Regions from separate parts of the Homo sapiens genome. Here region 2 is linked to region 1. The links are contacts of gene promoters, found by promoter capture Hi-C in blood cells and fetal thymus (Javierre and others, 2016). All regions are on one chromosome and are shown on one strand. The core of a region is centred on a gene start or on the middle of the fragment in contact, and the rest is flanking DNA. Distances in the headings are between cores, read along the strand shown.

Region 1 (6,438 bases), core at 2,419-4,918:
AAAATACAAAAATTAGCTGGGCGTGGTGGTGGGCGCCTGTAGTCCCACCTACTCGGGAGGCAGCCGCAGGAGAATCCCTTGAACCTGGGAGGCGGAGGTTGCAATGAGCCGAGATCACGCCACTGCACTCCAGCCCAGGTGACAGAGCGAGACTCCATCTCCAAAAAAATAAATAAATAAAATAAAATAAAATAAAAATTAGAAAAAAATTAAATGTTATTAGATCTAGAGAGATTACACGTTTTCACTGAGATCAAGCTTAACAGAATAATAACACTATACACATCTTTGAAAAGAGAGGGCAATTTTTTCACTAAAAAAAATGCTGGCTATTAAATGAGTCAACATTCACTGGAAAGAAATATTGTTAGAAAAGGGTAGTGGAGCCAGGTACAGTGGCTCACACCTGTAATCCCAGCACTTTGAGAGGCTGAGGCAGGAGGATCACTTGAGCCCAGGAGTTTGGGATTAGCCTGGGCAACACGGTGAGACCTTGTCTCTATTTAAAAAAAAAAAAAAGAAAAGAAAAGTGTAGAGGGATAGAGGAAATGCTATGTAATAATGGCCCTTCAGAAGATTGGAGAGAAAAGAAAACTTTTTCAAATGCAGAATGTTCTCACATTTCTTGGTATAAAGGAAGGATTTTCTATTTTAAAATCAGGTAGGTGTTCTAGTTAGCCAACCTGTTTATTAACTATCCTTGTCCGTGACTCATTTTAGCTTCATCTATATTAATGAGCAGCTGACTATGTAATACCACAATCATCAGTTTAGACTATACAAACACATAATCTTAACATCTAATTTCAGAGGACAGGAATTTGGTACAATTTAGAGTGCTGATATTGTCTTTAAATGAGGCTTGAAATGAAGGTACCATTAGAAAGCTTTCATTGAGCAAAGACCAGTATACAATGGGCAAGAGGTTATTTGCGCCGCAGCAAAATTTCACAGATTTTAAAAGACAATGTTACCTTGAATGTCTTGGAAAAATTGCAGTCAAACACTAAAGAAGCTGTATGTCCTTATTCTCTTCTTTTTAATAACTGGAGCAATAAGCCAAGATAATTTGCTATCTAAATTCATGAAGTACAGCAAGACTTTGATTTCTTCTCAAAGGAGTTTACAATGATTTTCATTTACTAACTGGGCCTATTTACATGTGTCAAACTAATACAAATGGGAAAATAGAAGCACTAATTTCTTACCTTTCATAGACTCATTGGAGAAGATGATCTCAATTAATAAGAATTTATTGAAAGCCTTAGGGCCAGGCGCAGTGGCTCATGCCTGTAATCCCAGCAATTTGGGAAGCCAAGACGAGCGCATCATTTGAGGCCAGGAGTTCAAGACATGCCTGGCCAATATGGTGAAACCCCGTCTCTACTAAAAATACAAAAATTAGCCGGGTGTGGTGGCACATGCCTGTAATCCCAGCTACTCAGAAGGCTGAGGCAGGCGAATTGCTTGAACCCGGGAGGCGGAGAATGCAGTGAGCCGAGATTGTGCCACTGCACTCCAGCATGGGTAACAGAGTAAGACCCTGTCTCAAAAACAAACAAACAAAAATAAAATAAAAGAATAAAGTGAAACATCTCATTCATCAAATTACAGGTAAGGGTTTAAAAAAAAAAAAGCAAAGGAAGCTTTTTTCTCACCTTGCAAAGTTCATGGCTGACCATCCTCAAGTCAAAACAGCTCTTGTGACAACTACAAACTTTAAAAAATATCCACACGTTTCTTGGTACTGATTTAAAATAAAAACCTCCTTAATCAGTTTTACCTGCTTAAACACAAAGTTATCATACTGTCCAATATAACTCCAATAAACTACTCCTGCATACAGTCAAGCTAATAATAAACAGAGGCCAGAGGCTTCATGGCAGCAAATTTAAAAGTCCTTACATCAAGGACAAAAAACCAAACACCGCATGTTCTCACTCACAGATGGGAATTGAACAATGAGAACACATGGACACAGGAAGGGGAACATCACACCCTGGGGACTGTTGTGGGGTGGGGGGAGGGGGGAGGGATACCATTAGGAGATATACCTAATGTAAATGACGAGTTAATGGGTGCAGCACACCAGTATGGCACATGTATACACATGTAACTAACCTGCACATTGTGCACATGTACCCTAAAACTTAAAGTATAATAATAAAAAAAAAAGTCCTTACATCAAATCAATACAACATTTAGGGGCTCAGATTTTCTTTGAAATCAAAACAAGAGAGGTAGTTTGAGAGTTTGCTATCTTCACTGATCCTCTCAGGAATGTAAAAGTATGCATTAAAATTTCAACCTAGCACTGCTTGAGTTTTTTAAAGCAATTTACTTCTACCTGGACAAGCAGTAAGGCAAGCCAAAGTAGCTGGGTTTTCTGTGACTTCTCAGTCTCCAACCTTTATGGTCACACTAACATTTCACGTTTCTAATGCTCCTAAACATAATTATCTCAAAAAAAAATTCAAACCACAACTGAATTTAAAGGAAGGGGGGCACTTTGCGTCACTGATAGAAAATGATTTAACACAATGAACTTAGAACTGGGTTTTTTCTTGTAACCATAGTAAGGGAGTGAAGATCAGAGAATTTAAAACTGTAACTAGGCTAGTCTCCTCACCTTGCAGTATCTCACCCTATCGGGTAGTCGTTGAAACAACACTGAGAAAGAAAGGCTCACAAAATTTTGATTTACACACATGCAACTTAATCTTGACGACACGTAAGTACCCACTGCACGTCCCTGAAAACGCATCGACTTGATTCTTAAATACAACCCCTATGTCTAATATACTGGCAGTGCAGATACACTACGTGAACACAACGGGGATGGAGGTATATCTCAGAGAACCAGAGGCGTTAGGCCTGCTGGTAATCAAAACGGACAGCTAACTGAAGAAGTCCCGTTTTCTATCCCCACAGCAAACTGAGTTAACTAAGGCATCACTTGGAATCCTCAACTCGCAACCCCAAATACACCCAGACTTAAGGATGCAAGGCCCCTACAAAGCTCTCAGGAGGCGAGTCTCTCGTCCACACCAGGTGCACCTACTCTAACCCTAGCTTCCTTCTCGGACCCTACTCTGGCCCCTCGGCTCCCCGCACCGCCATACCTGGGGGCGCCCCCAGTACTGCATCCCCTTGCTTCGCCCCCACCCCTATCACTTCGTCACTCACCCTGAGTCACCGGAGCCGCCCGCCCGCCCAGCCCAATCCGCCCACAACACCTCCAGCCCCTCACCCTCCCCTCCTCCAGGCCGAGTGGAGCCGGCCTGTCCCCTCCCGCCCACCGCCCTGTCCCAGGACACTCACCCGCGGTAGTAGGCTTTCACCCGGACCTGGTGGGAATGGTCCCCGCTGCCGCCGCCTGCGACCGTGTGGGACATGGTGCTGCTGTCCCTCTGGGTCGGCATCTCCTCACTCCCCCGCCTCAACGCTGGAGGCCGGGGGTGCGGGGGGGCGCTTCGGGCGCCGTGGGGGACTCCGCCGCCTGCGCTTGCCGGAGAACCGCGGCCGTCCGCCCACCTACCTGCCCACCTCGCCCGCAGCGCCGACCCAAGGGTCGCCTCGCCGGAGCAGCCGGAACCGCGCGGCTCCTCCCACTGCCCGTAGGCGCCGCCGCCTCTACAGCCGCCCGGGCCCAAGACACCTCCTGCGTCGGTCCCTCCCACTTCGCTCGCTCCAAAGGCCCACATTCCGGGGTAGGGCGGGCGCAACCATCCAGCCAGCTCAAGGAGCCTCAATACCGGGCTGAACCATCCTTACGGGGGCAGAGAAAGGGGACAGAGGGAATGGGAGACGCTGATCATGGCATCAAACACGCCGAGAGGGGTGCTTTCACGCGAGCTGTGAAAGAGACAATGACCAGCTCTAGATCACTAAAGTCTCTTCCCTGCAGGGACAATGGTAGGGACAAATTCTACGACACCTCACCCTAGCCTCGCAACTTGGTCACGTCTGCGGTCGGCCGACTTGGCACCCGGGATAGATTTGCGTGCAGGTTTCTGGGATTTGGAGTCCTCATAGGATTCTGGGACTTGAGGTTCCTTGCGCGTAGGGTGCCGCGCCTTCCCGCTGGTGAAGTCTGTCTCTCCAGCGTGCTCCCTGGAGCTGTCGGGGTGGAAAACCTGGATCCAGCTTGGGCATCTGAAGGTCCTGGAAATGACTGGGCTTCCTCACGTTCTAGACTTTATTAACTGATGAAGTCTCCCTTCTTCTAATTGCATAAATCGTCTGAATTATACATGTCTTTTGGGGGAACAAGAATTTGGTTACCTGCTCAGCATAACCTCTTTTATGGAAATAATTTAATAACATATGTAACAAATATAATAAAGGAAGAAACTCAACCAGAAAATATGATGAAAAACCGATTTTTCTTCTTTGGGGGCCCCCATATCTAGGCCCTTGTAGACTGCCCTTGCATGGAACAAGAGCCCAATGAATACTTACCCAATCAAGTCAGTCAATCCAAGAGCATTTCATTCTGTAAAAACTGGCTTACCAAAGATTAGAAAGAATCGTCCTTGGCCGGGCGCGGTGGCTCAAGCCTGTAATCCCAGCACTTTGGGAGGCCGAGGCGGGCGGATCACAAGGTCAGGAGATCGAGACCATCCTGGCTAACACGGTGAAACCCCGTCTCTACTAAAAACACAAAAAATTAGCCGGGCGTGGTGGCGGGCGCCTGTAGTCCCAGCTACTCGGGAGGCTAAGGCAGGAGAATGGCGTGAACCAGGGAGGCGGAGGTTGCAGTGAGCCAAGACTGTGCCACTGCACTCCAGCCTGGGCGACAGAGCAAGACTCTGTCTCAAAAAAAAAAAAAAAAAAAAAAAAAAAGAATCGCTCTTGTAACCTAGTCTTTGACTTTCCTAGGATCTTGGCTCTGACACATAATTTACACTGCAACTACAGGTAGCATGAATCCAGCCCCTGCAGCAGTCCTGGTGCTGAAAGAGTTGGAATAATCAAAGAAATAGCTTTCTTTACGATGATAAAATAGGCTTGGGGGACTGAGTCATCAGTTATGTGTGACACTTCAGCGTGGTACGACATCCTCCAACTGCTACAGACTTGGATTATATACTCTTACTAAAAATTCCCCTTGAGTCAGGCAAAGTGCTACATGCCTGTAGTCCCAGCCTTTGAGAGGCTGAGGCTGGAGGATCACTTGAGCCCAGGAGTTCAAGGCCAGCCTGAGCAACATGGTGAGACCCCATCTCTTAAACAAACAAAAAAATCCCATTGAAAAACTTGGTATCAGGTTTTTCAGTAATTGGAGACCTGCATCAGCAAGTTTAATACGGAGCGATTAATTATGGAATATATTATAAAATATACGGGCACCTGTAATCCCAGCTACTCCGGAGGCTGAGGCACGAGAATCGCTTAAACCCAGGAGGCAGAGGTTGCTGTGAGCCTCTGAGACTGCACCACTGCACTCCAGCGAGACTCCGTCCCTGGGCAACACAATGCACAGTGAGATCCCGTCTCATTTTTTTAAAAAAAGATAATTCACATGCCATACAACTTACTCATTTAAAGTGTAAAATTTGATAGTTTTAAGTATCTTCACAAAGTTTTGCAACCATCACCTCTACCTAAATCCAGAGTATTTTCAGCACCCTGAAAGTAACTGCATATCCATTAGCAGTTACTCCCCACTCTCCTCAACCTCTGGCAACCAATAATATATTTTCTGTTGCTATGAGTTTTTCTATTCTGAACATCGCTAGTAGCTGGGACTACAGGCATGTGCCACCACACCCTGCTAAATTTTGTGTTTTTTGTAGCGCCGGGGTTTTGCCATGTTGTCCAGGCTGGTCTCAATCTCCTGGACTGAAGCCATCTGCCTGCCTCAGCCTCCCAAAGTGCTGAGATTACAGGTGTAAGCCACCATACCCAGTGAAGGTTTCAGTTTTTTTTAATGTCCTTGCCAATACTTGGTTTTTTTCCCATCTTCTTTATCATAACCATCCTAGTGGTTGTGAAGTGGTATCTCATTACAGTTTTGATGTACATCTCCCTAATGACTAATGATGTTGGGTATGTTTTCGTGTTTTTATTGGCCATTTATATATCTTCTTGGAGAACTATCTATTCAGATCCTTTAATCATTTTTAAATTGGGTTGTCTTTTTTCATTGAGTTGTAAGAGTTCTCTCTTTTCTTTTTTTTTTCTTCAAGACAAGATCTTGCTCTGTTGCACAGACTGGAGTGCATGGCATGATCACAGCTCTCCAACTCCTGGGCTCAAGCGATCCTTCCACTTCAGCCTACTGAGTAGCTAGGCCCATAGGCATATGCCACCACACCCAGCTAATTTGTTTTTCTCGTTTTTGTAGAGACTAGGTCTTCCTATAATGTCAAGGCTGATCTTCAACTCCTGGGCTCAAGTGATCTTCCCACCTTGACTTCCCAAAGTGCTAAGATT
Region 2 (6,438 bases), core at 2,418-4,917, 460 kb after region 1:
GGCACACACCACCATACCCGGCTGATTTTTTTGTATTTTCAGTAAAGTTGGGCAGGCTGGCCTCGAACTCCTGACCTCAGGTGATCCGCCCGCTTCTGCCTCCCAAAGTGCTGGGATTACAGGCGTGAGCCACCGTGCGGGGACTAAGATCCCTTTTGCAAGGGCGGGGACTCCTTGAACTACAGACAAGTGCATGTCTTTTGTTCTTACTCCATCTAGTGGTACTTTTGCTTCTCCACATTTACAACATTTGTGGTGGTGCAGGGCCGTGAAGCAAGAATGGCCACAGACTGGGAATGTTTTTCTTTCATTTTTAAAAAGAAAACAGTGATTTAATACATTCAATTTAAAAATAAGTCCATAGTTGTTTTCTAGCTCATATTTGAAGTCGTCCCTCTGACATGTCTATTACAAACAGTCCAAAGGACAATTCTTAGTATTATAAACATTAAATATATTGTTTCTTTTTGGTAAAATGATTAAGTTATATAATTCTAGAGTAAAGACGGCCAGTCATCCTGGATGACCATACAGGTCATCCAGTGAGATAATTTATGTGAAAACTTTCTGTACATAATAATTATTGCAAAAGTGACTTCTTACTGCCACCGATTTGAGTGACTCTAGCAGATGAAGAAACTGCTGCGGAGAGGGGTTTTAGTTACTTGCCTAAGTTATTTACTTGCCTAAGTTAATTTTTTTGCAGAGTTGTGACCAGAAGCTAGGCTTCCCAAGTTCTAGTCCAGTGTTCTGTTCACTGTATTGCACCCTAAGTCTTTGTTGGTTAACCTGGGGCAGATGGTTAGCATTAACTCCATCGTCACTTTCTGGTTTAAAATAAAATAACCTCCTTAATGGTTGTAACCTTGGTTTCCACCCCACATCCACTCCCGCCCTAATACTCTTCGATGTGATTTTGTGCTGTGTGTGTTTCACTTTTTTACAAGTACAGTTGATTCTAGTTATTTGCAGTAGTTACATTCTGTGAAGCCTCTGTGAACACTGGATTAGTGAATACTGAACCATTGCTCCCAGAGGAATTACGGGATTAGGTTCCTGGGAACATTCGGTCACAACATTTTTGTCAAAGAATCGATACATAATCTTGTGTGTGTTTCTGTTAAAGACATCCTAAAGTATGTTGTTGATTCATTAGCACTGAACTCATATTCAACAACACTATCACTTAAGCCTGAATGAAGGCTAACACAAGTATTTTTTTTCTGTAAGACACATCACAGCTTTCTTGTGCTTAGGAACGCTAGACAGCACTTAAGCACTATGATTGGGGGTCATTTTAAACAGCACAGTCACCAACTAAAAGCATACAAATGTGAAAAACTTGCCATTAAATAGACCAGAAATAGGACACTTGTTTATAGTGTCCTTTTTGGACTACAAAGGCAAAAGAGAACCTATGTGTTGGGGAAATCAAACTTTTCAGGGCTCTGCACATGCCCATGAATGACTATGAAAGCACTGCAGGTATTGCTTTTGAGATTATAAACAATTTCGGTGACTAGGTGAATCCACAAATACAGAATCTATGAATATTGAGGGTTGACTGTACTTCAAGGTCTATGTGACAGCTGTATCTGAGAGAGACTACAGATGTCCACATGGTTCCTGAGGTACTTAGGGCTTGTTTCATGCCTTTTATATTATTTAAACCAGTGATTCTCAAAGGGGTATAGTGAGAGAAAGGGTATATGAAGTTTGCAAATGACGATACTTGTTCTCTTTATTTTGTTACTTAGGTTGTATTTCACATGAAGGATGTGAGAATTTTATGCGTATGAAGGAAGCATTAGCTTTAAAAATACTGAGAAACATGCTTTTTCTTTTGTCCTTCAGAATGAGGGGCTTCCTTTGTAAGGTCTGGAGTTGGTTATGGGTTTTGACTCTGAGGATGACATTGAGTTTTAATTCAGCTTGTCCTGGTTCTGCAGTCAAAAATTCCATGTTAGCCTGGCTCGAGACTTAAGAGACAAATAGATGGCACAGGCACAAGCGTGTGTACACATGCACCCACCGTCATACAAAGTGTAAGGGAGGAGTGGTTTTAAATAAGATGAGAATGAAGTGACAAAAGGTAACTGTCATTCCTTCATGTTCATTCTTTTAAGGTAATAATATGTGATGGAAGTAAAAACAGCGAAAATACCCAAGAATTAGCCCAGGATATGCAAATTTAAATGTCTGCAGTGGACAGAAAGGAAACAAAGAAGTGAATCACACTGGGAATAAGAAAATGGAGACTATAGAGATGGTAGGGAGAATGAGCTTCCCTTTTTAAGGAGGCAGCAATCTTACAGAAATTGAGCCTAAAATTGTCAGTATTGCAAGAGAAGACAAAAATTCAGATTTTTATGTCAACACCACTGATTATAGAATGTTGGTAGCTAAATTGAAATAAAATTTAAATATTATATAAGTGCATGGTAAAGAATTTGGATGGCTTTTGTTCCTGAACCCTGGGAAGTAGCCTCTAAACCCTTGGAATTCACCAAGAATGGTGGGAGTGTCTTTTCTTGGTAGGCCTCTTGGACTAGACCCAATAGTTTACACTAACGAGATGACTCATGACTGGGGGTTGGTCAGCCATGTGATTAGAGTGTTGGGGCTTTGGGCCCCATGATACTAGCCCGACCTCTTGAGAGACTTGGAGCCACATGTCTGAGCCTTATGACTAGTGATTCATCCAATCATGCCTGTAATGAAGCCCCAATAAAAACTCTGGACACACTGAAGCTTGGATGAACGTCCGTGGTTGGCAGTACTCAGTGTGCTAGGAGGAAAATGTGTCCCTGAGGACATGAGGAGAGGGACAATGGAACCTTCTTTCTGGGACCCTCCCAGACCTCACTCTATGTGTCTCTCCCTTTGGCTGGTTTTGATTTGAATCCTTTTGCTATAATAAAACCATAATAATAACTATAATAAACATCCTTTTGCTATGATAAAACTGTAATAAAACCGAAATAACACTTTCCTGAGTTCTCTAAGTCATTCTACTGAATTATGAAACTTGAAGGGGTAGTGGGAACCCCTAAATTTGTAGGCAGCTTGTCAGATGTAAGGATGGCCTGGGGACCTCCTAGCTTAGGTTGTTGATAGCTGAAGTCATTGCAATGCACCAATAAAAAAACGTTTTGAGATAAAATCTGGTCTATTATAGGCTATTAATTTGCGACCTTTGGCCTAGGCAAATTTAAGCATTCCTGAGTGCTTTCTCTAGAAGGGTGAGGGTTTGGACCATCCTACCAGTTTGAGGCCTACCCAAAATAAATGTATTTGAGAGGAGTTTACACTGGTGGTATCTGTTATAGGTTTCTGGGAATATCACTAAAGAGAAGTTTCAAAATTAAATTTTAATAATATTCTGAAAATAGTAGTGCTAATCCTTCACGTATAGGGGTTAGGGTATTTCTTCCAGTGGTTCTGCCTGAGGGGTGGGCCTGTTTTTCAGTGTCCATTCTGTCAGTCGTTATGGGATGTGAAGAGGGTTCCAAGGGTTCCACCATCACTAGGTGGAAATGAGGCAACTTTTCCCATATTTTTCCTTTACTCTGGTTTGTATCTCCCCTCCTAGGTAGGTATCAAAGTATATATGGTCTTCATTTGTGTTGCCTCAAATTCTCATTTCTTCCTTGATATAAAAAGGAAACAGGAAGACATTGAAATAAGGATATTATTGTGGTCCTGTACTTTTACCCTGTTCTAACCTAGCTGAGGGAATCTAGCATAAGTCACCCAACTTTACATTCCACATGTGTCAACCGGATGTACTAAGACTTCCCTTGAAGGGTGGTTGTGGGGAGAATATATGAGTAATATATATGACAGCAACTGGTATTATTAATGAGAGGAGAAGTCTGTCTTACTCTTTACTTTGCAAGTAATGATTTTACAGCGCTCTGATGGGTATGTTGTAGTTACTCTGGCAGGAAGTGGTTTTGACTTGGGTATATAGTTAAGAGATATATGGAGAAGGGTGGAAGTGCTAATGGTTTGTGAATTTTTAAAATAACACCAATTATGAACTTGATGCACACCTGCAGCTAGAATCTTTCTCTAGATGATGTTTGACTATCATTTTTTTTTTTTTTTTTGTCTTGGGGCTCTAGGTTTTCACTTTGGTGATATTTATGTGTGTACTATGGCTGTCTATATAAGTGTTAAAAGGCATAATTATAGTTATTAAAAACAATTTAAGGAAAACAGAAAAATGCAATAATGAAGAAATACAAATACTGACTTTTTTGTATGATCAATGAGGATATTATAACTAAAATGAAAAACATTATACATATCAGTTGCAAAAACAGTTACATTCCCCACAATCTTTTTAAAAAATGCGAGTAGTTTGCTAAAGTGAACTGGGTGACTTATTTTCAACCTTGGAAGAAAAACTCAATTAAAGCTACATTTGAACTGTAATGGCACCAAGGAGTTCAACTTGACCTCATATGCCAGATTATAATCATCTTTCAAGTGTACAAACAAGGAAGCATAGTTATCAAAGAATGAGAAATACGTTTGTTCAAAGACCATTTACTGCTTTAACAAGAGGTGAAAGCTTGCCAGAAATATATAAACACCTACCCCAGTGCTATTCATAGGCTTAACATGTTCAAAGACTTGGGGGCGGAGGGGGGGCAATTTAAAAATATCTTTGAAGTTGTGGGTATTCATCATCATATCTAATAATGCTTACTTTCTAGAGCCCCTCTCCAAGGAGGGCAAAGCAATTTATCTGACTTATTTTCATGACATCCTTGTGAGATAAGGCAACCACCATTATCTCCCTTCTGCAAATGGAGAAACTGAAACGTTGGGAGGTAAAATCACTTGAAGAAGGTCAGTAGCAGGCCTAAGAATGTAAATACACGCATTTTAGCTTTTAACTGCTATTTTACTTTACAGAAAACTAAACAAACAAAAAATAATTTTAAAAAAATCACATACTTTTTCATTCTCTTTTTAAGTTAAAGAATAATTACTCATCTATCAACTTTTCCTTGGTAAGGAAAACAGTTTAAATGGCTTTTCACAATAACTGGAATCTTATTATACTGGAATGAATGAACCACTTGCAAAGTTGTGATGTTCATTTAACAAACACTAAATACCTAGTCTGCAACATGTTGTATTGTTCAGGGTGTTGAGACTTCAAAGGTGAAACATATATTCCTCATCTTTAAAGGTCTTCCTGGAGAGAGAGATTCTATAAGCAAATTATATGGTGCAGTCTCATGTTATTTAAATTTACTAAATTCATCATTTTATCCCCCAAATCTATTTTTTCTTCCCTTTCCCCTTCCCGTAAATGCTACTGCTACACCCAGGAGCTAAAACCAGTCTTCTGGGCACCACTGCTGATGTCTCATTTTCCCCGCACCCTGCCGTGTCCTCTGGTCTATTTTTTTTTTTTTTGAGATTGGGTCTTGCTCTGTTTCCCAGGCTGGAGTGCAGTGGTGTGACATAGCTCACTGCAGCCCTGAGGCTGAGGTGCGAGGGTCACTTGAGCCCAGGAGTTAGCACAGAGGCAAATGCTAAGTAATCTAATTAATAATGCTTTCTAATTTTTTCAGTTACAAAATTAATGTGACAATATCATAAAAAAAGGTGAGAAATAGAGGGACTACAGATGTGCACCGCCAGCCTAATTTTTAAAATAATTTTTTTGAGAGTCAGGAGCTTGCTATATTGCCCAGGCTGGTCTTGAACTCTTGGCCTCAAGTGATCCTCCCACTTTGGCTTCATTTCTACTACCTTAATCTAGTTCACTATCTTTTTTTTTTTTTTTTTTTTTTTTTGGAGAGAGAGTCTTGTTCTGTTGCCCAGGCTGGAGTGCAATGGTGTGATTTTGGCTTACTGCAACCTCCACCTCCCAGGTTCAAGTGATTCTCCTGCCTCAGCCTCCCAAGGAACTGGGATTACAGGCACGTGCCACAACGCCCAGCAATTTTTGTATTTTTAGTAGAGATGGGGTTTCACCACGTTGGCCAGGCTGGTCTTGAACTCCTGACCTCAGGTGATCCACCTGCCTTGGCCTCCCAAAGTGCTGGGATTACAGGTGTTAGCCACTGCCCCAGCCCAGTTCACCATCTTCTACAAAGACCTGACAGGTCTTTCTACTTCTTATCTTGCCTCACACCCATTACCAATTCATTCTTCACAACGGAACTAGAGTGATCTTATTAAAAGGCTAACTGAGCCATGTTTTTTCTCTTCACAACACTTTAGTGACTTCATGTTGCACTTGGAATAAAATCCAAAATTCTTATCAAGGCTTTGTATAATCTGGCCCCCTGCTTACCCCTCTGTGTCCCCACCCAAATCTCAACTTGAATTGTATCGCCCAGAATTCCTATGTGTTTTGGGAGAGACCCAGGGGGAGGTAATTGAATCATGTGGGCCAGTCTTTCCCATGCT

What was found. The method cuts DNA at HindIII sites, captures the fragments that hold promoters and counts their contacts. A CHiCAGO score of 5 or more calls a contact.
Region 2: a contact is called between a fragment that was not itself captured here and the fragment with the promoter of PRKCI in region 1, in 3 of 17 cell types (non-activated CD4 T cells, total CD8 T cells and naive CD8 T cells). The highest score is 6.2, in non-activated CD4 T cells.

What each region holds. Positions count from the first base shown.
Region 1 is chr3:170,219,654-170,226,091 of GRCh38, reverse strand. It overlaps PRKCI (protein kinase C iota), which reads right to left and starts at 3,668. Exons shown (of 18, transcript NM_002740.6): 1 at 3,322-3,668. The coding sequence starts at 3,422. RefSeq lists a silencer at 3,308-3,597 and enhancers at 3,778-3,937, 3,948-4,007, 4,078-4,137. The HindIII fragment of the contact is 16,903 bases long and covers 1,649-6,438 here.
Region 2 is chr3:169,756,878-169,763,315 of GRCh38, reverse strand. No RefSeq gene overlaps it. Among named protein-coding and RNA genes, the nearest start is that of ACTRT3, 9.5 kb to the left of the region's middle. The HindIII fragment of the contact is 1,828 bases long and covers 2,754-4,581 here.